Regions from separate parts of the Homo sapiens genome. Here all the other regions are linked to region 1. Evidence: promoter capture Hi-C in 16 types of primary human blood cells and fetal thymus (Javierre and others, 2016). All regions are on one chromosome and are shown on one strand. Each heading gives the region's core, a stretch centred on a gene start or on the middle of the fragment in contact. The rest is flanking DNA. Distances are from core to core; before and after follow the strand shown. Region 1 holds the start of C10orf55 (chromosome 10 putative open reading frame 55). Region 2 overlaps VCL (vinculin). Region 3 overlaps AP3M1 (adaptor related protein complex 3 subunit mu 1). Region 4 overlaps VCL (vinculin).

Region 1 (6,739 bases), core at 1,468-3,967:
TGGCCGACTCCCAATAAGTGTTTGCTATATTAATGAGTGAAGGATGAATCAGTGAATAAATGAAACTTTTGGGTTCTCTTCTAGCCCCTAATCCTCACCAACCTGTGCTAAGAATGCCCTTCTTAGGCCAGCCATGGTGGCTTATGCCTATAATCTCAGCACACTGGAAGGCCAAGGCAGGAGGATCACTTGAGCCCAGGAGTTTGAGACCAGCCAGCCTGGGCAACATGGTAAGACCCTGTCTCTACAAAAGAATTAAAAAAAAAAATTAGCCAGGTGTGGTGGCACATACCTGTGGTTCCAGTTACTTGGAAGGCTGAGGCAGGAGGATCATTTAAACCCAGGAGGTCAAGGCTGCAGTGAACTAGGATTGTGCCACTGCACTCCAGCCTGGGCAACAGAGCAAGACCCTGCTTCAAAAAAGAAAAAAAGAGTGCTCTTCTTTTAGTGGTCCTTTGGTCCTTTTTTTTTTTTTTTTTCTGAGACTGAGTTTTGCTCTTGTCGCCCAGGCTGTAGTGCAGTGGCACCAAACTGGGAAGCTATTGTAGGGTAGACTGGGCTCAACTAATGGTGATGGTGGGGAGGGAGAGAAATGGACGACTTCAAGAGATATCAGTCAAATCCCCAGGATTTGGTGATGGAGGGGATGAAGGAAACCAGGAGAGAAGCATCAGGATGGCCCCAGGTTTCTGGCTTTCATAATTGAATGGATGTGGTGCTATCATCTGAGACAGAAAGTGATGGGAGATGTCTCCACACTGGGGCATGAAGACTCGGCCAGTTTGGGGCAGGTTGACTTTGAGGTCCCCTGTGAGTGACAACCAAAAGGGGTGTCAAGTAGACAACAGAAAATAAGAGTCTGGAGTGCAGAAGAGAGGTCTGGCTAGAGATCAGCTTTGTAAGCCATCTGTTTATTGGTGGTCATTTAAGCCTGGGTGCTAACAAGATCCTAAGGGAGAAAGCTTAGGGTGGGAATAGGAAGTTTAAGATCAGGCTTTAGGAATCCTAACATTTAAGACCGAGTAAAAGAGGTTGAGATTACAAAGGAACCCAAGAAGCCAGAGATGTTAACAATGGCTGTGGAATGCTATGAAAGTATTTTACATTTGTAGCTACTTTTACAATTGAATAAAAATGTTTAGTTTAAAAAGCCAATTTTTTTATGGCTTCTAGAACTTAATTCACTTTCTGGATTTTGAAAAATAGTGCCTGAGGGCAAGAGGTGATAGTCAAAATATTTAACTATCAAGATACCCCAGTAGGACACTTTCGCCTGAGCCAGCTGGAGGAGGGAGGATCTCAGAGGCCTTTGCTGTGCCACAGGCATTAACCCTGTGGTTGCTGGATCATGAAGAAGTGGAGAGAGGCTGATGGCAGGGGCCACGCGGAGAGGATCTCAGGACAGCATCTGTTTAGTCACTGAGCAGAACCAGTGCCTGCTGCTGAGAATCAGTCCTGCAGCAGGGTCATCACCAGCTGGATCCCACCAGATCCTTCCCCACCATCTCCACCTACTCATTGCCCCCCAGAGTTCTCCACCACAATGGACTATTCCTCATTTCCTTAGAACACCTCACCTTTTCATGCCTCCATGAACTTCCCTACGCCTACAATGCCTTTCTTCTAGTTTGGCAAATTTCTGTGTGTATTTGAATGTCCAGGTAAAATATCACCTCTTCTGTAAAGTCGTCATTGACTTCACCAGGCAGAATCAATTGCTTCTTCATTATTTTTCCATGCATTTTATGCAGACTTAGTATAGCACTTTGCAAAGTGGTGAGCTCCTTGAGGACTAGGACTGCCTCATTTGTATCTAAAATAATGTCCTGTGTATGGGTACTTTAAAAAAATGACAAAGGGCCGGGCGCAGTGGCTCATGCCTGTAATCCCAGCACTTTGGGAGGCCGAAGCAGGTGGATCATGAGGTCAGGAATTTAAGATCGGCCTGGCCAAGACGGTGAAACCTCGTCTCTACTAAAAATAGAAAAAAATTAGTGGGGCATGGTGGCAGGCACCTGTAATCCCAGCTACTCGGGAGGCTGAGGCAGAGAATTGCTTGAACCTGGGAGGCAGAGATTGCAGTAAGCCGAGATTGCGCCACTGCACTCCAGCCTGGGCGACAGAGCGAGATTCCATCTCAAAAAAAAAAAGAAAGAAAGAAAGAAATGACAAAGATTGTTGAATGAATCTCAATGTGACTGAAACCTCAAAAAGAGACCTAGAACATCCTTTTTTTTTTTTTTTTTTTTTTGAGATGGGGCCTCTTTATGTTGCCCAGGCTGTTCTGGAACTCCTGAACTCAAGGGATCCTCCCACTTTGGTATCCCAAAGTGCTGGAATTTACAGATGTGAGCCACTGCACCTCGCCTAGACCATCTTTTCCCTCAATTTGTTATTAAAACTCAGCAACCTCACTGACACATGCTATGCCATGGATAAAACTTGAAAACATCATGTTAAGAGTGAAAGAGGCCAGTCACAAAGAACCACATATTATAGGATTCTATTGATATGAAATGCCCAGAATTGGCAAACCCACAGAGAGGACAGAAAGTAGTAAATTAGTGATTGCCTAGGGCTGAGGGGGTTGGGGAGAAAAACGGAGTGATTGTGAGTGGGTACAGGATTTCTTTGTGAGGTGATGAAGTGTTCTAAAATTGATTGTGATGTCTCACAATTCTGTGAATCTACTAAAAACCATTGCATTGTACACTTCAAATGGTGCCAGACGTGGTGGTATGAGCCTGTAATTCCAGCCACTCAGGAGGCTGAGGTGGGAGGATCACTCTGGCCTAGGAGTTTGAGATCAGCCTGGGTGACAGAGCAAGACCCTGTCTCTAGAAAAGAGAAAGAATAAATGGGTAAGTTGTATGATATATGAATTATATCTCAATAAAACTGATTTTTTTTCTTTAGAGACAGGGTCTTGCTCTGTCACCCAGGCTGGAGTGCAGTAGTGCAATCATAGCTCACTGCAGCCTCGAGCTCCTGGGCTCAAGCAATCCTCCCGTCTAGGCCTCCCACAGTATTAGGATTACAGGTGTGAGCCATTGCACCTAGCCCAGAATTGATTTTTAAAAAACACCTCAGCAACTCCTCTTACTTCATCTAATTCAAAGGGAGGGCTTAAATGTTTCCTTCTTGGAAGGAAGGTGGACCCAATGGGAGTGAGTATGGAGGGGTATAGGCAGGGGTGCTGCTGTGGTCAGCTTGGGAAAGATAGGGCATACGTGGAAAGCAGGCTGAGTGCTGTTAATATAATGGGCTGAGAATACTTCAGAAAGAGGGGTTCTGGTGAAAACGGAAACCACTTCAATGAAACCAGATTGCAGCAGAAAGGCTGAGGTTACTGTGAGAACAGTGAAGTTTTACTTTGAAACCAATGGCTGAGTGTGGTCTCCTCATCTGGCCTGGGAATCTTCTAGGAGGAAAGAATTGTTATCTAGGAGAGGATTAAAATTCTGATAGATGAGGCTGGGCGCAGTGGCTCACGCCTGTAATCCCAGCACTTTGGGAGGCCGAGGTGGGTGAACCACGAGGTCAGGAGTTTGAGACCAGCCTGGCCAACATGGTGAAACCCCCGTCTCTACTAAAAATACAAAAATTAGCCGGGTGTGGTGGTGCACGCCTGTAATCCCAGCTACTCAGGAGGCTGAGGCAGGATAATAGCTTGAACCTGGGAAGCAGAGGTTGCAGTGAGCCGAGATGGGCCACTGCACTCCAACCTGGGCGACAGAGCAAGACTGTGTATGGAAAAAAAAAAAAAAATTCTGGGCTGGGCGGGTGGCTTACAACTGTAATCCCAGCACTTTGGGAGCCCAAAGCGGGTGGATCACAAGGTCAAGAGACCGAGACCATCCTGGCCAACATGGTGAAACCCCGTCTCTACTAAAAATACAAAAATTAGCCGGGCGTGGTGGCATGTGCCTGTAATCTCAGCTACTCAGGAGGCTGAGGCAGGAGGATCACTTGAACCCGGGAGGCGGAGGTTGCAGTGAGCCAGGATTACGCCACTGCACTCCAGCCTGGCAACAGAGTGAGACTCCGTCTCAAAAAAAAAAAAAAAATTCTGATAGCTGTTGCCTAGAAACCCAGCAACCATAAAGTAGAAAGCTTGAAAGGGGGGCTGCTCTCCTTTTGCCCTAGTTGGACTCTCCTGAGAGGTGATAAATCCTAGTACCGCGCATGAGGACTCTGGAGATGGCTGCCTGGGTTCGAACCCTGACTCTTTGCATTTGGAGCTGCATTGCCTCGTGCAAGTCACTCAATCTGTCTGTGCCTCCATTTTCTCTACTGTTAAATGGGGCTAGTGATACTACCTTCCTCATAGGATTCTTGGGAGGATTAACTCAGACAACACATGAATAATTTAGCACAGTGTTGGTCTGGCATGGTGGCTCATGCTTGTAATCCCAGCACTTTGGGAGGCTGAGGCGGGTTGATCACTTGAGGTTAGGAGTTTGAGACCAACCCGGCCAACATGGTGAAACCCCATCTCTATTGAAAGTACAAAAAATTAGCCAGGCGTAGTGGCGGGCGCCTGTAATCTCAGCTACTCGGGAGGCTGAGGCAGGAGAACTGCTTGAACCCGGGAGGCAAAGGTTGCACAGTGAGCTGAGATTGAGCCACTACACTCCAAACTGGGGGACAGAGCAAGACTCCATCTCAAACAAAAAAAAAAAAGGCCGGGCACGGTGGCTCACGCCTGTAATCCCAACATTCTGGGAGGCCGAGGCAGGCGGATCACGAAGTCAGGAAATCAAGACCATCCTGGCCAACATGGTGAAACCCCATCTCTACTAAAAACAATACAAAAAGTAGCCGGGCGTGGTGGTGGGCGCCTGTAATCCCAGCTACTCGGGAGGCTGAGGCAGGAGAATCGCTTGAACCTGGGAGGCGGAGGTTGCAGTGAGCCGAGATCACACCACTGCACTCCAGCCTGGGCGACAGAGCGATACTCCATCTCAAAAAAAAAAAAAACAAAAGCAAAAACAGAAAAAGCACAGTGCTTGATCGTGGAGGCACTAATAGGAGGCAGTCTCTGGAGTGAGAATCTGGAACTGTGAAACTGGTTGCTGGAGAAGCGGCTGATGCCTGCTAGCCTGGGGTGAGATCTAATATTAGGCAAAGAGACAGCAGCTGGCTGGGGGTCAGGGTGTTGGCTGGGAAATGGCCTGAAAATTGTTAACAGCCTCCTGGCTTAACCCTGCCAGTAGGGCTCATACTTCCTGTTTTCAGTGTCTCTGAGCCCTGATGCTGGAGCTGCTCAAGTTTGAACAAGATCTTTCTTGGCCCCTGAGGGGAAGGCAGAAACTGAACAGCCACTCGGCTTGGGCAGCTTCCTAGCAGGTTTCCACTCCCGCAAAATAGTGCAGTTCTGAGGTGGGAGAGGGCAGAGGGTTCCCATCTGATCTGATGCTACAATAATTTACTTAGCTTTGTAATAATAACCACCGTTTTTATGCTTTTATTAGGTGCCAGTATTATGCTAAAGGACTTATGAACTCATGAATCCTTTCTGTTGTTGTTGTTGTTGTTGAGACGAAGTCTTGCTCTCTGTTGCCCAGGATAGAGTGCAGTGGTGTGATCTCGGCTCACTGCAAATTCCACCTCCCAGTTTCAAGCAATTCTCGTGCCTCAGACTCCCGAGTAGCTGGGATTACAGGCATATGCCACCACGCCTGGCTAATTTTTGTATTTTTTTTTTTTTAGTGGAGACAGGGTTTCACCTTGTTGGTCAGGCTGGTCTCGAATTCCTGGCCTCAGGTGATCCGCCCACCTTGGCCTCCCGAAGCACTGGGATTACAGGCTGAGCCACTGTGTCTGGCCTTCATGAATCCTTATAACAACCCAGGGAGGTAGATTGTATCATCTCTTTTGTACAGATGAGGAAACTGAGGTGCAGAGAGGCTAATAACCTTTCTCAAGTCACACAGCTGGTGTTAGATTCTAGTTCAGGCCACCGGACTCGAAAATCCATGCTCTAAACCACTGCATCAACCTGTGTAAAACAGCACACTAGATGATGGGGATCAAAAGCCGAATACTAATCCCAGTACTTTGGGAGACCAAGGGAGGCAGATCACCTGAGGTCGGGAGTTCGAGACCAGCCTGGCCAACAGGGTGAAACCCCATCTCTACCAAAAACACAAAAATGAGCCGGGTAGTGGTAGTGCATGCTTGTAATCCCAGCTACTTGGGAGGCTGAGGCAGGAGAATCGCTTGAACCTGGGAGGCAGAAGCTGCAGTGAGCTAAGATTGCGCCACTGCACTCCAGCCTGGGTGACAGAGTGAGACCCTGCCTCAAAAAAAAGAAAAAGCCAAATACTTGGAGTTCTTGCCCTCTAGGGAAGCACGGTCCAGAAAGCCTTTAACCAGGAAATCCAGGAGACCTTGTGCCACCAAACCCCACTCAGAAAACTGGCTGTTCATGCAGAGAACTCATGCTGACCATATCTTGAATTTTTCTGGGCACTTCATATATTCTGACCAATTGTCCCCAAAGGCTGTCAATCAGTGGTGCATGTTAGTAACACCGAGGGAGCTTTTCTAAAACCACGAGACCTGGAGCCAGCCCTGACCTGAATCACAATCTCTACAGGTGGAGTGTAGGTGTGCATATTTTAAAAGGTCCTCAGATGACTCGATTAAGAAACACTGCCCCAACCCATTAACACAGCTTGGCAATTCTAATTTTTGATACCCAATTATCTCCCAACCTGCCTTCTACACCCCAGCT
Region 2 (6,316 bases), core at 805-3,304, 190 kb before region 1:
TGGCAGAGTGGGGCAAGTAATGTGGGCCAATGCTGTCTGCTTTTAAGTTTGTTTGTTTTTTTAAATAATTCATGTATATTTTTTGTTCTGCATAGTGTATTTTGGTTCATTGTAATGAAATTTAAATTTCCTTTAAAATCTTCACTGTCACCCTCCCCCACTCCCCATGCACAGTGGGGCTCTGCCACATGCAGTTGGAGAGATACCATTATAAATAATTCTACAGGTCAGGTCCAACACCAGCAAAGTCTCCCTTCCTTCTTAGAACCTGGGCTCACAGCTAACAGTTCAGCAAAATACAGAGTTAAAAACCAATGTGAATTTCCCAGCCTGAAAAAAATCCAAGATCAGCTGCAGGTGCAGGAGGTCCCTGAGGAAATACAATCGACACAAGAGCTTGAAAGCTTTGAGGATGTGTAAAGAATAAAGGCAAATAGGTGGTGGGAATAAAGATCTAGGGTCATAAAAACATTAAAAAAAAGATCTAGGGTCATATTAGAAACAGTTTAGAACTAAGAGCTACCTTTCACTGCAGGGTTAGCAATAATATTCCTCTTATCTAGAAAAGCTACTGCTCACTTTTCATCATTTAGGGGAAAATAGGCAAAAGTTATTCATAGGGCAAGACTGCTGTAGCATCCATATTTTTACCAACCACATTAATATTTACACCTTCAGATTTGCTGAGTAAGAGACAGCCTGGAGCTGTCTTGAGTTGACAGGTGAAATGATTCTGAGAAAGGACAAAAGCACATGGCTTCTAAGATACCAATCTACTTGCTTCTGTGGAAAAAAAAAGAAAATGCAAACATTTCATCTAGCTTTAGCACAGCCCACACAATTCATATTTGGAGCTCTGATCATTAGCAATGTAGCATCTAAAAACATTTGCAGTTCCAAGAAAGATAAGCAATTTCTAAAAGACCCCAAATGCTAAGGTCAAGGCACCTGGCACTCTAATGGACAAAGGACAGGAATCCTCTTCTCAAATCACAGGCACCCTGACTCTGGCTTTTGCAAGCTTGAAGGAGAAACCATCAGGTGTCAGAAACATCTCACTAAAGCACAGGTAAGAAGAGGAATATGCTATTGGCAACACAGGAACCAAAGGAGAGAGAGAGGGTGACTCCAAATAGACTCTTCTTTCTGGGTCTTTCATGGTCCTTCATCCTTTCCGAGAAGACATCCTTTCTCAACAAGAAAAGCTTCACTACTTACCTTGCTGGACCATTTGCGAGCTTCATCATGGAGCTGTCTGGCAGCCATCATCATTGGCTGGTTAATCACCTCCCCGGCCTTCTGCTCAGGGAACTCTTCATCCTTTTCCTCTGGTGGTGGAGGCCTAGGTGGAGGGACCTCACCTTCAGGCAGAGGTGGTTTGGGAGGAGCAAGCTCATCTGTTAGCTAAAAAAGAGAAAACAAGTTGTAAGTAAAGTCCTAAAACTACTCCCCCCTGGAATTCTTTCCTTTCTTCTAAAAAGCATCCCTAGAAAACCCACCCATATTGACTCCACATAAGACCACCCACACTGAGCCACAAGGACCACCTGCTTCAATCTCAACAGAAGCAGGTTTCTCTACAAAAAGCTAGCAGTGGCCGGGCGCAGTGGCTCACGCCTATAATCCCAGCACTTTGGGAGGCCAAGGCAGGTGGGTCACCTGAGGTCAGGAGTTCGAGACCAGCCTGCCCAAAATGGTGAAACCCCATCTCTACTAAAAACACAAAAATTAGCCGGGCATGGTGGCATGTGCCTATAATCCCAACTACTCAAGAAGCTGAGGCAGGAGAATTGCTTGAACCCGGGAGGCAGAGGTTGCCGTGAGCTGAGATCATGCCACTGCGCTCCAGCCTGGGCGACAGAGCAAGACTCCATCTCAAAACAAGAAAAAAAGAAAAAAAAAAAAGGCTTGCAGCTACTGTTTTGGTTGCATCCCAGGGAAGTATACACAGTGCTACCAGATGAAGGATTCTCAAAAAGTCCCTACAGAAGATGTAAGTTGTGGTCCTGGTTCTACCAGAAAGCAGCTACATAGGCAAGTAACTTCTCCCCTTGGCCTGAGGTTCCTCATCTGTCACTGAGGGGTAGCTAGACCAAATGACCTCTAAGATCCAGATTCTAAATGACATAACTCTGTTGCTCACATAAGAAGCCATTCCCAGGAATAGCCCTCTCTCCCAGCTCTAAACACCCACCAAGCACCCAGCTGGGAAGAATCTAAGATGCGTTGAAGGCTGGGAAACACTGTTCCTTAGCTGTGTGTGCGATGACACAATTTTGTACTCAACCAACTTAAAAACTTAACATCTTTTACTGACATTAAATATGGGAAAGTAAATCAGATTATTGCCTTGATAAGTTATTTACAAAGTCAAGGTATTTCTAATACTGTTAGTTGGAATAAGTGTCTAGAAATAATCACTATTTCTGTTTCTGGAATTTGTGTCTGCAACATACTGCCTAGCTAGCTTCTTCCTACACCATGTAAAAATATATTCACAGTACTTGCGGGGGGTAGTGGGGAAGGTATCTAAAGATCTTAAATTATAGTTAGGGAAAAATTTTTTAAAAGCATGTATCTTGTTACTTAAAAAAAAGTCAAATAAAGGAAAGAACCAACACAAGATTTCAACCACCTCGGTTCTACCATTATCAACTAAGAACACACCAAATCTCCTTACTCCAAGCTGTGCAGATTATTTTACCACAATGCACTACCTCATCACTCATCACATCCACACTTACCAAAGCCAGCTCCTCTGCTCCAGCCGCTCCCCATCACAGCAAGCCACTACCACACACACCAGTACTACACACACACACACAACCCATGCATATAAGCACTAGGTTATAACTCCACTGGATTTAGGAATGAAAATCGAGATCTGCCTCCCACTAAGCTTCAAATGAAAGCTAAACGAAGCCACCTAGTGATGGAGGCTCTAAAACACAATCTACCTCTCTCTTGCTGAAGTCTCAACACCTTCCTGCTCAATTCTCTGCATATCTGAATTTACTTACTCGGAGTTGTTCAAGGTCTGGTGGAGGCGGCGGGAAGTCAGGCTCCTGAGGTTGGAAGGCTTCTCTGACCTTGGCCACAGCTCCCAGGATCCGATATCCTGAGTCCAGGAAGCTCTTTTGCAGTCCTAAACACAAGACATCCTCACTTTCAGCTGGGTGGGTCAGTGCCCCAAAGCACTGTCTGTGCAGCAGCAGAACTGGTTCCATGAACAAAAGCTGGATGTGAAGCTGCCAGTAAATATCACGGGCAGTGATTGAAGAAGGGGGGAGGCAGGACAAGGCAGATGCCCTGAGGCCTGCAGAGCATTGGAAGCATCACAAACCAGCTGTTCTTTTAGTGTTCAGGGTGCCTTCTTGGCTGTACAACTAAAAAGTACCCAGGAGATCCCTGGGCATGAACACTTTGGGCTCAGGTGGCATCCATCACCTCTCTTATGATGAGGCAGTCAAGAGATAAGCCTGCCCAACTCAGAACATGGGAGATGTCAGTTTCAGATTGGACATACATTCCCTGAAGTACTTCTCACCTTTCTCTCTACTCCTTTGCTGTCCTTGGCATTCAGTATGTTAACCCTTATGCTGAGCTGCGCTACTCTGTTCAGTTGCCTGGAATTCAGGAATCTACTCTACTATTAGAAACTCCAATTAGGAAACCAAGCATGTCCTTAGTGATAATGGGTTTTGGATATTAGAAAGATTCTGCCTGAACCAGAGATGAATAGGGGAGCCCCTCCTTCCTACTCTCTTGCATTGACTGCATTCTACTCATAGACAAGACTGAAAACATCAGATGTTCAAAACAGGAAGGAATTCAGATGATTTCAACCAAAGGAGCGGCTCCAATTATGATCTGCCATGGTAGTACCAAAAATATGATCAAAATTCACCTAAAGAAAACCCAGATTTTCTTTAGGTGTAGGGCCTAGGAGACCCACAGATCAACTTAAGCCCTCCAGATTTGATAGAAACTGAGAATGCTTTACAAAGAAAAAAAAGCATTTTAAGAAAAGCCCAAGAGAAGTTAACACCAGTTACATAAACTAAATGGATGGTAAATTGGTTATCATGCATCTTTTGAAAATTTTCCAAAATAATGACTGAACAAGGCGAGGAGCTATTTAGCCAGACCATATTAAGAAAGCACAGGCTGGATGCCTGTAATCCCAGCACTTTGGGAGGCCAAGGCGGGTGGATCAACTGAGGTCTGGAGTTTGAGACCAGCCTGGCCAACATGGTGAAACTCTGCCTCTACTAAAACTACAAAAAATTAGCTGGGTGTGGTGGTGGGAGCCTGTAATCCCAGCTACTCAGGAGGCTGGGGCAGGAGAATCACTTGAATCCAGGCGGGGGCGGAGGTTGCAGTGAGCCAAGATTGTGCCATTGTACTCCAGCCTGGGCAACAAGAGCAAAACTCCGTCTCAAAAAAAAAAAAAAAAAAAAAAGCGCAGAGGTTGGGCACGGTGGCTCACACCTGTAATCCCAGCACTAAAAAAGCGCAGAGGTTGGGCACGGTGGCTCACACCTGTAATCCCAGCACTTTGACAGGCCAAGGCGGGTGGATCACCTGAGGTCAGGAATTCAAGACCAGCCTGGCCAACATGGCAAAACCCTGTCTACTAAAAACATAAAAATTAGCCAGGCATGGTGGCACACACCTGTAATCCCAGCTACTCGGGAGGCTGAGGTAGGAGAATCGCTAGAACCCAGAAGGTGGAGGTTTCAGTGAGCTGAGATCATGCCACTGCCCTCTGGCCTGGGTGAGAGTCTCAAAAAAAAAAGAAAGCACAGAGAAGTTGGTCCAGAAAAACTAACATACAACAAGCCTGCTGATAACTGCAGAGACTTGGATGGAAAAAGATTAATCTAGCATTCTCAAACTAAGTGTCTATAGTTTTTGCCCCCAGACTTTGTATGTGGTGGTTGTGGGGTACATATTCCCTCACGACCTTTCCTGAGTTAACCTCTCAGTGGAGGTGAGACATAGTGCCATGCATTGCTTACCAGGGTCGGAAATGTTTCCAGCCACAGCTTTTGCATCCATCACCATCGGGGAGATGGTTTTGCTCAATTCATCAGAGGCAGCTTTCACAGCCTCACGGAACTTGGGATCCTCGGAATTCTCCACCTCCCTCTTAGCCACCAGCAGGATCCGGTTGGCCCGACGAGCAATACTGGTTGCCCCAGCAACCAGCATCTGAGGCTGAATGTTGGCCATAGCTACCTTGCACTTGTCCAGGTCTTTTTTAATTGCTTCTTCTGAAGCATCCAACAGAGATTTGGTATCAATGGCTTCGTCCACCAGCCCTGTTAGGAAAACAGAAATGGAATTTAGTTTCAATTTAGAAGAACAGAAACTCCAAAACACTGTTATCCACTCAAACTTCTCATGAGAAAGTATAACATCCAGAATTCTCTTCTTCAGCTCAAACTCTTCCTACATAATCAAAAGCTTCCAGGTAAACACCACAGTTAAAAAAAACAGTGAGGACATAGCCCAAAAGCCCATCTGGATTTGCAGCATTTATACCAACCGTGGTTGCCAGCCTTCTTGTATCCACCCCAGACAACCAGAAATGCAACATCGGGAGGAAACAAGGAATATGTCTGAAACCATCACTGCATCACCACCACGTTATCTGTGAATAATATTTTCTCCCTGTCCCTCTCACTCCCCAGCCATCTGTTGCTTGTTGGCAGCTTGTAGTGCTCAAGATGAGCCATGCGGAGGATTCCAATAACCCTAACAGCCTATTTCTTATTCCTGTTACCTCTCTTCAGACACCTCAGGAGTTCCACTTTCATCTCGGGCTGCCATGGACCCCAGTCACAGCAGGTTCTGCAGGGACAGCAAAAAGCCTACATTCCTCATTCCTTCTTTCCTATCTCTCCCTTTACAGAGAATGAAGACGATTCAGAGGTGCCACTTCAATTGCACAGACACAGGTTTGCTGGTGGTTGGTTTCTCCTTTTTAAAAAAACTACGTAGTTGATAAGTTGGAGGAAACTTTGAGACAAGTTGTATTAAATGGTAGCTATTGTGGTTCCTTGAAATGTGAACCCACTGAAAATGACAGGGACACTTACTGTATCCACAAACACCGCCTCCCAGCCTCTGAAACCAAACTCGGGCTCGGACTGGGCAAAGACACTATTCAAAGAGAAGATAGGAGTGGTGACAATAAACATCACGCCAGGAGGGCAGCATTAAAATAAAAGAGACTCAAAGAGTCTCTCTTCTGACAAAGTTGCAAGGCTTGAATGAGAAGCCGCCACTGCTCAGCAGCCTTAAGCAGAGC
Region 3 (6,397 bases), core at 1,770-4,269, 200 kb before region 1:
CTGCCACCGCGCCCAGCTAATTTTTGTTTTTTGTTATTTTTTTTTTTTATTAGAGAGGGGATTTCACCATGTTGGCCAGGCTGGTCTCAAACTCCTGACCTCCAGTGATCTGCCTGCCTTGGCCTCCCAAAGTGCTGGGATTACAGGTGTGAGCCACTGCACCCAGCCACCCCAATTGTTTATACTGTTATTAAACTTCAGATTTCTGTCTTGATTTGTATACAGTTCCCAGCACAGTGGTACAAGAACATTATGCTGTACTCAGCTCCCCCTTGTGTAGATACTGAATCTGCAGTTCTAGAGGTACTGCCATCTTGGTATCCTTGGAGGACTGGTTGCAAAAATCAGCAGATGCTCGAGTCCCTTACATAAAATGGTGTAGTATTTGCATATAACCTATGCACATCCTCCTGTATACTTTAAATCATCTCCAAGTTACTTGTGATAGTACACTGTAAACACTGTGTAAATAATTGTTATACCATGTTGACTTTTTATTTTTATTGTAGTTATATTGTTATTTTTTACTTTTTTTTTTTTTTTTTTTTTTTTTTTTTTTGAGATGGCGTCTCGCTCCTTTGCCCAGGCTGGAGTGCAGTGGCACGATCTCAGCTCACTGCAATCTCCGCTTCCCAGGTTCAAGCGATTCTCCTGCCTCAGGCTTCCAAATAGCTGGGACTACAGGCATGAGCCACCACACCCAGCTAATTTTTGTATTTTTAGTAGAGACGAGGTTTCACCATGTTGGCCAGGCTGGTCTTGAACTCCTCACCTCAGCCTCCCAAAGTACTGAGATTACAGGTGTGAGCCACCGCGCCCAGCCCTAGCTAATTTTTGTAGAGACGAGGTTTCATCATGTTGGCCAGGCTGGTCTCAAACTCCTGACCTCAGGTGATCCCCTCCCAACCCTGGTCTCGGCCTCCCAAAGTGCTGGGATTACAGGCATGAGCCACCACGCCTGGCCAATTTTGTGAAATAATATTTTCAATCCTCAGCTGGTCAAATTCAAGGATGCAGAACTGTGGCTACAGAGAGCCAACTCTGTAGTACCTTATTGTGGAGTTAAAGGCAGGGTAGGATACTCTGGACAGAGGTTTTCAGGATACCTCTGGAGCTCTCCCCACACCATTAATTGTGTTTGTGCTTTTGTATCTTTCTCTGTTTCTCTTTTTAGTCTAGTGGCAATACCAGTGTATGTGAAACATAGTATCAGCTTTAAGGAGAACAGTTCTTGCGGCAGATTTGATATAACAATTGGACCAAAGCAGAATATGGGGAAAACTATTGAAGGAATTACAGTGACAGTTCACATGCCAAAAGTTGTGCTGAACATGAACCTGACACCCACACAAGGCAGCTATACATTTGATCCAGTCACCAAGGTACAGCCACTTCAAATCAAGAGTGAGCAAGTGTTTCTGCAATCTATTTTGTGATTTGTGGGGAGGAATGGAGGGAAAGGTTTGGCACCTTGTTTAAAACTAAAGTTCGTATCAAAACCTAGAGAGCATACTGTGCTGTGCTTCTGCCACTGGCTGCAGAAGGAATCCTGCAGCTGCTACTGAGTAGATGAACAGAAAAATGTGTCATTCTGTCCTTTTTCAGAGTGTGCCTTCACTCATCCATTATTAATCCAGAGCCTGACTCTGCTATCTAATAAGAAAGAAGTAAAAGCTTTTTTAAAAAGAGAAAACATTATGTAGATTGAAGAAGATATTATGATGGTCTATGAATTACTAAGTTTTCTATATAAATTGATCACTAAGACCTTTTTCTTCCTTTATAATTTAAAAGCATTATTTCATACTCTTTCACAGGGCTAGGAAAGTTGCTTCCTCACTCTACTTAAATTTTTGTGTAACAGAGGGTTTTCAGAGAAACTGTAGCAGATGATTTTCTCTCAGCTTCCTGATTAGCTGGTAAATATGATTGTTTTCAATAGCAGAGTCATTGAGCTACCTGATAAATGAAAAGACATGTTTTTTGAATAACATCATAGAATGTTAAAGATTATTTAATACAGTTGTAAGGATTCAAAGAACCTCCTCCTGGAGACCACACAGGGCTGAGAAAGGGAGCTTCAGATTCCTGGCCCTTTACCACAGCTTCAACTATGACAGCTTTGCTTTCTTTCTCATCTGCTGTTGAGCCTTCACACCGAAGATTTCATTTGAACAATGGGTTTCACAGCTAAAAGTTTTAAAAACACCATCTTAAGTCAATCTAATTATTTTACAGAAAAATAAACAGAGGCTGGGCGCAGTGGCTTACGCCTGTAATCCCAGCACTTTGGGAGGCCGAGGTGGGTGGATCACCTGAGGTCAGGAGTTCGAGACCAGCCTGACCAACATGGAGAAACCCCATCTCTACTAAAACTACAAAATTAGCTGGGCATGGTGGCGCATGCCTGTATCCCAGCTGCTTGGGAGGCTGAGGCAGGAGCATCGCTTGAACCTGGGAGGCAGAGTTTGTGGTGAGCCAAGATTGCACCATTGCACTCCATCCTAGGCAACAAGAGTGAAACTCTGTCTCAAAAAAAAAAGAAAAAGAAACAGGCCCAGAGAAAAGTGAAGATGGTTATGATGGAGAACATTTGAAATCAGAGGGCCTTAGGTTCAAATCCCAGCCTTACCTCTGACTAACTATGTGACCTTGAGCGAGTCATTTGATCTCTGAGCCTTAATGTCCTCTGAGCTTTAATTTCCTCATTTGTAAATAGAAGACAAAAGCTACTTCACAGCCCTCAATGAGACAACATATGAATAATGCTAAGCACGGTGCTAATACAAAAGAAAATGCTCAACAAATGTAGATTCTCTGCTCTCACTCCCCATTCAAAGTCACAGAATTAATCAGAGGTAAACTCACTGTAGATGCCAGATCTCTTGTTTTCAAGAGACTGCACTTCAGTTTGTACAGAAGTTTATGATATCTTTGAACTTTGTTTTTGAGGGTTTGTCTTTAATAAATGGTTCTATTTGTTTTTCATTTTTTGTCTTTTTAAGGTACTAACATGGGATGTGGGAAAAATTACTCCACAAAAGCTCCCAAGTCTTAAAGGACTGGTAAATTTACAGTCTGGAGCCCCCAAACCAGAAGAGAATCCGAGCCTCAACATACAGTTTAAGATCCAGCAGCTTGCTATTTCAGGTAAGGATAAGGTTGACTTGTAGTTAAGGGTAATTGAGTTTTGCAAGCTCATTTATTAGGCATTTAGAAGAGTAACAAAAGTTTCCTTCTCTAGAAAGAGCAGTAGCCCATTTGCCTTTTATACTGTGCTTGGTGGGGCAGTCTCACAGGCACCGACCAAATGATTTTTCAGAGCACCTTATTTCAAACAGCTTCCCCTCACCTCCGCCCTCATTTAAGCACCAAAAAGAGAGTTATTCATATTCACAGAAAGTAGAATTATACTTCACAGACATTCCCTGCCTGTGTGGGAATCTTAACCAAAACCATACCATCAAAGTGCAATAATTTGTAAATGATAGAAGAGACATTTCTTCCAAATGGTGGAAGGGACACTGGTTAATGTCAGATTTACCATATAGCGCTCATTGCTAACATTATATTGGTTGGGATGATGATAATTTATTCTTTTTCATTCTTTTTGATACAGGCTTAAAAGTAAACCGTTTGGACATGTATGGGGAGAAATATAAGCCATTTAAAGGAGTCAAATACGTCACGAAAGCTGGAAAGTTCCAAGTGAGGACATGAGAAGAGGCCAAAATTCCTCAGGACCAGTTTGTTTTCCAAGTGTCATTACGATGTATCACTATTAGGTACCAAGTGAGTGGGAATACATATTCTAGTTAAAGCATTTGTGTCTAGCTACACACCGCTAACAAAGTTACTTAGTTATCAATGTAGGATTCTTAAGGAGCTTTAAGCTAAGGAAACCTTTTAGTGACTTAGCTTATTTTGTATCTTTTCACTTAGGAAGATTTTGGAGGTGATTTTTTTCCATAGGAGGATACCATCTGGCGGCTGCACATTGTAACAGTAAAGGCAGAAAGCTGTAGTGATAACCTCTCTCCTAAAAGAGTTAACTGGTCTCATCCAGCAGAAGCTATCTTAAATCTGTGATGTGTCAGGTGCAGCCAAATATCACACCTTCTGATCTTAGCCATCCCAAACCAGTATCTGTCCCGAGAGGAAATTCCCCCCACCCCCAGAAGTTTACAGAAAACTGCCTCTTCAAGTGTTTGCCTTATTCAGCTTTTCACTTGTGCCATTAAGCAAGCACTGTAGCAAAAGCCACTTCCACATGGCCCTGGCAGGGAGCACTGCTGCTCCATGCTCCATTCTCACTGTACTTGGTATTGTATTTTTTATAAATAAGATTTTTATGTAAAGCTTAGAATTTGATTTACAGGGACCTTGCTGCAGTAAATACCATCTCAATTTTGTGCCACTGGTTCAGCTGTTAGCACAGTAAAAAAATCATTTGTATCAAAGGGGCAAATGCTTTATTAAGGTAGTAAAAGGGAACATTACTTCTGCTTTTAGGAAGTTACTGCAAGCACAAGCATTTGTGCTTTTAAGCAAATTAAAGTAGTAAAAGAAAAACTTAAGTGAAACCTTTGCCATCTTCATGTTTTATAATATAAAGCTTACCCAACACCAGTTAAGCCATGGTTAACCTAAATGCCTCATGCCCCAGTTCAGCAAAAGGAGGAAAATGTGCCTGCCTCACAGTCATCAGTCTTTTTAAATCTTTTTTGTTGTTGTTCTTAAGGGTTTGAATTTGTCTGCATTCCTTGTCTTTAGGGGAAATTCCCTTTTCATATTGTGTGCTTCCCAAAGCTATAGTCATAGATTTCTTCCAGAAACTATTGTCATAATTGTCACTGGAGTGCTTAAATATACGTACTATACTGACAAAATACATGGAAGTGAGTTATAATGAGGCAGAAACAAAATCCTCGGTAACATTGATGATACTCTACCGATCACCGTGGTTTTGGAAAGTCAGTCAACAGTTGTATTATTGCACTCAATTTCATTGTGACATTTTATTTAACTTCTTCATCTTGGTGGTCCTTGCCCAGTTATTTTGCCTCATTAGACATCAAGAAATGGAGAAAGACTGAAAGTTAATATCTTAAGTGCTTGTTCTTCATGTTTCCTTCTTGTTATTTATGCTATTCTCTTTGTGGCTCCATTCTTCTTTCAATCTTCTCAGCTTATAACCGTCTTTCCCTTATGCTAAGGATAGCCCTTACACTCATCCCATCTATGCTGTCAAGGGCTGCTGGTTGGTGCTGGTACAAGGAGCCCACTCAGCAGTTTTCTTACCTTTGCCTGCCCTGCCTTTCATGGAATAAGAAAGGCAACGTTTTGCAGCTTCCAAATTTCTGAAGAAACTAATCTCAGATTGGCAGTTAAAGTCAAAATGTTGCCAAATATTTATTCCTTTTGCCTAAGTTTGGCTACCCGGTTCAATTGCTTTTTATTTTTAATGTCTTGACTCTTCAGAGTTCGTACCTCAAAAGAACAATGAGAACATTTGCTTTGCTTTCTGCTGAATCCCTAATCTCAACAATCTATACCTGGACTGTCCAGTTCTCCTCCTGTGCTATCTTCTCTTCTATCCAAGTAGAATGTACGCCAGGAGCTCCTTCCCTCTAGCAATTTCTACTAAAATGTCCAAGTAGAATGTTTCCTTTTACAATCAAATTACTGTATTTATTAATTTGCTAGAATCCAGTAAATCATTTTGGTAGCTCTGGCTGTGCTATCAATAAAAAGATGAAAGCAACAAGTTGATTTTTTTTAGGTCTACTATTGATTGAACATTCTCCAATGGGCAAGGCTCATTGTCAAAGCAGGGTGAACATGATCAGATTTTCTTCTGCATCATCACACAAGCTGCGAGTGTTGCTGCAAAGCACTTCTCAGTACTCCTTCCCTAACCTCAGTATGTTAATAGCCATTCATACTTGGCTTAAGCATCACCATTCTGGCCACAGTCTGAGAGATTAGTGATCAAAGCTCCCTTCCCTATCACTACCACCACCTACTGATAACAAAGATTTCTGAATACTTAGTAGTAGTAAAATATTTTTCAAGCACAGAGTTACAGCTAATCCTGGATCACTTGTTCTAAATTCATAAGGGAGTATATCAAGAGCAAATGAAGTAAATGATTCTTTCCTGCGTGTGGGAGTCACCATCATTTTATTCAAAGGGAGTTCCTGTGATAGGTTCATTCCTTAAGTGGTGCTACAGAAGGACCCTAGGAAAATGCTGATCTTGTCCTGAGAGGCAACTGATTTGAGAAAATGATTATACTACAGCAGGAAGGCAGCACCAGTGAACATATGGTAAATGGCAAAAACAAGACAGTTTTAGAAACTGCTAATTCAGTAGCAGCCTTGGCCTTTCCCTTAAC
Region 4 (6,396 bases), core at 2,312-4,811, 150 kb before region 1:
AAAGTTGTCTAGTCCTGAGACTTCATGCAAGTTACCTTCTCTGGGTCTCAATTCCTCATCTCTAAGAATACCTTCCTGGCTCTAAAAATCTATGCTACCTATGAGTGCATGATCAGATGTACTAGCCAAAGATAACTTAGATCAGAAGGGAAACATCAATTTATTTTGGGATTTTCTCCTCATGGGGAGCAGGGAGATAAAATATCATAAATGCCTGAATTAACTATTTCTCTCAAGCTCTTAGAGATCTTTCATTCTATTAGCTGCTAAAAACAAAACACTAGAACACTTGCTCATAGAAAGCCCACAAATGACCTTTTTTTAATTTAACAAATCAACTCTTAAATCCCAGTGGTCTGCAAGTAAGGGGGTAGTATTACACACTCACAAGTTCTAACCAACATTTCCTGCCTTAGTTAAGTTTGCTAATCTTCTGTATAAGGCATCTGAGTCACTTACTACTTTTACCCACCACCAGCCCAGGACCACAGTGGGGAGAGACCCACCACAGGAACTAATTCTGAATAATAGAATTTAATGATTCACGGTGCAAAGCTGCAGGAGTGCCTATGTAGGGTTCAAAGTCTTAGCAGTGAAATTTTTTTTTAATTTTTTATCTCACTTCCTCTTAATTCTCAGCATGCATCAAGATACAAGTAATATAAATACCAAAAAAATTAAATGTAGAGCACTAAATTTACAAAGGGTAGAATTAGAATTGTGTTTAACTCAAATTCTTTTAATAAATAATGTATTTTCAGAAAAAAATGCTAACCTAATTTTTAATGATCACTATAAAATGATTGTTGATTTAAGAAAAGGAAACTTTTTACTTTTAAAATAAGTGAAGTGTTTAAAGTCAAAGTTACTTTTAAATTTGTAAATGTGCAATTTGAATATAGGTATAAAAGGTAAAATAATCAGTTATTGCATTGCCTCTTTAAAATCTTAACTTATTCGGCAAGACGCACTTTTACCAAGAATTTTTTCCACTTACTTTCTTCCCCCACTTTTCTAGAGGAATCATCACTTTCCAGAAGAATACTGCACCAATGGGGAGGCATGAAACAAGTATGGTAAGACAAAGTTAATTATTTATTGGTAGGGGCGAGAAGAGGTGAAAGACACTGTATGCATTAAACAGAATGGGAACCCAGCAGTCACAGTCAGACAAAAGGTCTGATTAATTCACTGCTTACAGTGGAGCAATGAAAGATGCGTAATGCTACAAAACTGAAAAAGAGCCAAAATCCTAGCTACCAATTTCTATTTTCAGGGTAAAATTTTTTTCTATTTTGATAACCAATAGAAATGATTACTCTTAGAGGGTGAGGAGCGGTAGAGTGGATGGGAACCAGGTTAGGAGGAAGACTTATCAGGTATATCTTTTTGCAGCACTTTGATATTTGAACCACATAAATGTAAAACAAAAGCAAAATTAGGTTAAAAATAAACCTCTTTTTTTATTCTGATGTCATTAGGTTAAAAAATAAGCATCTCTTTTTCATTCTTATGGTCAGTAGATTAAAACATAAACATCTCTTGTTCATTCTGATGTCATCGTGTACTTGAGTTGAGCTAATTTAATTTACCTTCTTTCATTTCAGATGAAGTTAGTTTTGTAGCATCCTAACAAATTGGTTTTCCTCAGCATAAAACTGGGAGCAGCTACAAGACTGTACACGGTGAGTACCAGGTCTATTTCACTTGTATCCCCAAGTGCCTAATCCTAGCCCTGAAAACTCAACTGACTACATTTTTTTAATGAGAGAAGCAGCTCTTGATGGCACTTGCACAAAATAAAGTTCAATAACATTTATTCACTAAATGATGGATAGCTTTTCCCTTCTGAAAATAGAGAAACATTAAGGTTAAAATGCCTGTTCCTCCTTATTACTTTTTGTCATCTGCTAGAAGCAAAAGAAAGAGAATAAGCGAAGAGCTTGGGTTAGGGGAACATGAGGTCATGGAGAACTACAGCTAATTCAGTTTGGACAGCAAAACATGCAGTGAGCCACAGAATGAAGTTAGGAAGACCTTTAGACACACTTCACTTCTGTTTTCCTTTGGATTTTGAAGGCTAGGATTATTATGAAGGACAGGTGCCTCATCTAAGCTCTCTAGCCTACCCTCTTTCATTATGGCTTAAAACCTCAATGATGCATCTCCAAAAGCAAAATTTCAGAGCCCGCAAAGAAGACTGGTGGGAGAGGCAGGTACAGAGATAGCATCAGCTGGAAGTCTCCTTTCCCAACAGCAGGGTCCACAGGTAACTCAGGGGTCTCCCAGCTACCTGGGGAATCCTGCTCCTCAAATGAAGTCAATGGGAAAGACCAGGCCAAAAAAGATCCCAGGAGCCTACCCAAAGAACTGAAGGCACCCACCAAATATAGGCAGCCTGATAGCCCACAGTAATGTCTTTCCTTTAGCTTTTCCCAAAGAAATCACTCAATATGAGCCACAGTCAGTCTCCCCAGCACTGCCTAGAGTCCCGTATTAAATCACATTCTGACGCACATTCAAGCACAGTGTTATACACAGAATAAGGCACGGCACACAGCACAAAAAAACCTCACAGACATGCTTTTCTCTTTTTAAGCGAAAAAGAAACTAGAGGGCAAGAGAAAGCTTACCTTCTAAACGTGAGAAAAAGAATAAAACAAAAGAACAAAAAAAGATGCATAAAGAAGTCATAACAGGGAAGTGAAAGTTGTCAACTATGCAAAAGCAAAATTAAATAAAATATCAGAGTTAAAAAGATTTTACCATATAGATTTAAAATACAGTCTTAGAATCTATTCAAGAACTTCACATCAATGAGAAAATGTCTCTGTAAATAAATCCATAGTTAAAATAAGCTAACTTACTCTATATAATTAAATTAGCTTTCAGGGCAACAAGAGAGAGGGCTGGTGATTTCAGGCCCCAGCTTTTACATTACCTTACAGATCCCGGAGAACATACCGTTCTACTGAGCACCCAATGGAAGTCATACAACAAAATCCCTTCTTTAGTTGACTACCAGCCTTCTGGCTGGCCCTGGAGACATTGGGGTCACACATGGGAAAGCTAGATCTTGGGGACAGTGTGTTCCCCCCACTGCCTACATCTTGGGCTCCTACAAGGAAAGTATGAACCCAAGTATCTCTGTTCCCCCAGACCTGAAAGCTTGGTTCACAGTCATTAAACAGGGAGCAGCAGACCAGAGCAGCAGCAACACAAAACCACTGCTAACAGGCTCTAGAAGGAATCTGCCAGCCCCTCTGGGGTCCTAAAAGAGATTCCAGAAAAAGGGTGAAGGGATCCCTCAAACTAACTGACCAATGTGAAGACTAATATTTTAATTAAACCTTCCTTGGGGAAAATGGAATGATCAAGGGACACATCTAGAAATGCCAAGAGTTTCCTCTGTAGATTTCTCTGGATCAAAGATTGGTTAAAGAAAAGTTTTCCATAAAGTTCAGAATTACAGGCATATCTGTATCTTACTTAGTCAGCTGGGAAGAACCACCCATATACAAGGCAGAGCTCCCATCCACGGGAATATACTCTTCCACCAGTCCAACCAATAAGACTCCAGCCTGATGGAAAAGCTATAAATCTCAGCCTTAAACCAGTATCTACCCCACATGCCTATTTACTTGTTCTACCTTAGAACAAAGGAAATTAGCAAAGATAGCAAGTAACCTATGAAACAGAAATGAAGAAGAAATTACTTTCACAATATCTGAGTACTCTTATGCTACAAAAATTACAAGATAAAGTATGAGACAGGTGCCAATCAAAACCCCCAGCCAGGGAGAGTTGGGGATTTTGCTTATTTCTCCACTAAGAACACGTACCTTGCTGGCCCAGGCATCTTCATCCCAAGAGGTGAGTTGTAACACACGAATTATCTCATTAATTTCAGCACTCATTTTTTCTACAGTAAAATTGCGATTTTTTAAAGCTTCCTCTATGCCTTGGTTTTTTGAGTTTTTAGTTGTTACAAAAATCTTCATAGCTGTAAAAATAAAAGATCAGAAAGTAAGCTTGGAATTTAATCTTGTTGTATAACAATATTCACAAAAGATGTTCTACACTTTAGATGTTTTGGGCTTTTAAGATCCTAAAATGAGTATACAAAACAAACACTACAAGTTTGACAATAAAGTTCCAACATTAACAACCTTTATTGTAAAAATAAAAAAAGAAAAAGAAAACTCAAGGTACAAAGACACCATCACAACATGATTAAGTAACTAATTTAACCTGCATATGCTGATGACCTGCAATCACAAAATATCTAATATCCTTCTAAATCAGTTATCATCCTGGCCCTCACCCTGGCTCCATCTACTACAAACCTAATGGGACAATATGAAAACTGTCAGTAATACTCTGAATGGCGTATCCTGCTGCCCCTGATCCCAGCAGAAGATCCCAAGATGTCAAGTTTATCATCCGAGATTTCTCTCAACATGTAGCTTGGATTTGCCAACCCCCAAACATAAAGAAGAAAAAAATAATGTCTGGGCATGGTGGCTCACGCCTGTAATCCCAACACTTTCGGCGTGATCTCGGCTCACTGCAACCTCCGCCTCCTGGGTTTGAGCAATTCTCCTGCCTCAACCTCCTGAGTAGCTGGGATTATAGCCGTCTGCCACCAATCCTGGCTAATTTTTGTTTTGTTTTGTTTTTAGTAGAGACGGGGTTTTGCCATGTTGGCCAGGCTGGTCTCGAACTCCTGACCTCAGGTGATCCACCCACCTCGGCCTCCCAAAGTGCTGGGATTACAGGAGTGAGCCACTGTGCCCAGCCTCCTGAACTCTTATACTCATATGTCCTTTTTTAGCTACTACTTGAAACACCAAAGCAGGTAGCTGGAAGTCACAATGACATGAGTCACCAGATTTTTATAATAAAGTTGCCTTCTGAGAAATAACTAATTAACCCACAACTTGACTAAGATAATTCATATAAACCATGAGCTGTCTGGCATATACTAGACACTCAATAAGTGCTACTCCCTTTTGCTAGTCGAGAGAGCAGCTACCATGTTTGCATTTCAGAGCACTACTCAATGGGAAGGTAGTCCCAGCTGGTGACTAAAGAACTGATCTACTCATGATGTAAACAACAGTTAAATATCTTTTAGGAAAAATTGGATTAATACACACTAAAAAGGGCTCTGAGTTCATGTCTTTATCATATGATGCTCTATAATATCCATTCCAGCTCCTAATTATTTTTCTATAACACAAAGGTGTGAAAATTTAATATCCTAGGCTAGAGTTTATAGAGGAGAGTCCACCTCCCAGCAAAGGGGCTTGTTAGAGCTTTAGGAGAACAGAATTAGGCCACAGAAAGGCAATTTCAAACAAAGAACAGGAGAAGGACAGCATTAGAGAAGAAGACTGGTTCTCAGCCAATCAGCTACAGCCATCATGTGATAACCAATCAATCGGGTCTCATTTTTACCTAGGCTGAAGGACATGCAGTGAAGCCACAAAAGAAAATGAACCTCAGGCCAGGAGCCATGGCTCACGCATGTAATCCCAGCACTCTGGGAGGCTGAGGCAGGCAGATCACGAGGTCAAGAGATCAAGACCATCCTGGCCCACATGGTGAAACCCCGTCTCTACTGAAAATACAAAAATTAGCTGGGCATGGCAGTGCGCACCTGTAGTGCCTGCTACTCAGAAGGCTGAGGCAGGAGAATCGCTTGAACCCAGGAGGCAGAGGTTGCAGTGAGCCGAGATCGCACCACTGCACTCCAGCCTGGCAACAGAGTGAGACTTCATCTCAAAAAAAAAAAAAAGAAAAGAAAACAAAAGAAAACAAAATGAACCTCAGAGTTTAGAACATGCTAACATTTTTCCCCCCTATAAAATAAAGTACAGGCAGGAAGTACCTGAAATGAGAACTGGCAGCAACTCTTTCACGGTGTTCATCGAGTTCACCAACATCACTCGGTGCTCCTGGTGAGTGAGCTCCTGCTGTCTCTCGTCAATCATCTTGGCCATCTTAGTCATTCCTGGGGCACAAAGAAGAAATTGTGCAGGGTGAGTAGTGAAACAATCCCGGGTCTGGCTTTCTCAGTCTAAATCCATTATGAAATACTATGAAAGTTCAAACCGATTGCTCACTTATTTAAACAACAGACACCATCACTGAACTCTAATTTATGCAACATTACTCTTTTCAATGAAAGTAATGTATTAAATGTAAACACTAAATGTGATAAACATTTTCATATTTTGATATAAATATATTCACAAATATTAAACATCTAAATGAATAAATATATATTTATTAAAAAGAAATTCACAGGTAAGGGAAAAACATTTTGCCAGGCTTCTATGCATACAGGTTTCATGCCATGTCTCTGAACTCTGTGCTAAAAATCTCACATGA

Evidence for each region. The method cuts DNA at HindIII sites, captures the fragments that hold promoters and counts their contacts. A CHiCAGO score of 5 or more calls a contact.
Region 2: a contact is called between a fragment that was not itself captured here and the fragment with the promoter of C10orf55 in region 1, in 2 of 17 cell types (endothelial precursors and megakaryocytes). The highest score is 7.6, in endothelial precursors.
Region 3: a contact is called between a fragment that was not itself captured here and the fragment with the promoter of C10orf55 in region 1, in 1 of 17 cell types (megakaryocytes). The highest score is 5.6, in megakaryocytes.
Region 4: a fragment that was not itself captured here is called in contact with the fragment with the promoter of C10orf55 in region 1 in 4 of 17 cell types (endothelial precursors, megakaryocytes, naive CD4 T cells and 1 more); the score reaches 6.1 in endothelial precursors.

The regions. Positions count from the first base shown.
Region 1 is chr10:73,918,755-73,925,493 of GRCh38, reverse strand. C10orf55 (chromosome 10 putative open reading frame 55) reads left to right here and starts at 2,717. Exons shown (of 5, transcript NR_160938.1): 1 at 2,717-2,861. RefSeq lists enhancers at 4,027-4,673, 4,674-5,322. The HindIII fragment of the contact is 3,151 bases long and covers 965-4,115 here.
Region 2 is chr10:74,104,059-74,110,374 of GRCh38, reverse strand. VCL (vinculin) reads right to left here. Exons shown (of 22, transcript NM_014000.3): 16 at 5,022-5,324; 17 at 3,021-3,145; 18 at 1,219-1,404. Among named protein-coding and RNA genes, the nearest start is that of AP3M1, 44 kb to the left of the region's middle. The HindIII fragment of the contact is 1,694 bases long and covers 1,208-2,901 here.
Region 3 is chr10:74,121,133-74,127,529 of GRCh38, reverse strand. It overlaps AP3M1 (adaptor related protein complex 3 subunit mu 1), which reads left to right. Exons shown (of 9, transcript NM_012095.6): 7 at 1,175-1,382; 8 at 3,006-3,150; 9 at 3,620-6,397. The coding sequence ends at 3,720. It also overlaps a transcript of VCL not described here. Among named protein-coding and RNA genes, the nearest start is that of AP3M1, 26 kb to the left of the region's middle. The HindIII fragment of the contact is 2,685 bases long and covers 1,677-4,361 here.
Region 4 is chr10:74,072,350-74,078,745 of GRCh38, reverse strand. It overlaps VCL (vinculin), which reads right to left. Exons shown (of 22, transcript NM_014000.3): 5 at 5,894-6,016; 6 at 3,843-4,003. LOC124902458 (a long non-coding RNA gene) reads left to right here and starts at 5,968. Exons shown (of 2, transcript XR_007062200.1): 1 at 5,968-6,044. The HindIII fragment of the contact is 781 bases long and covers 3,171-3,951 here.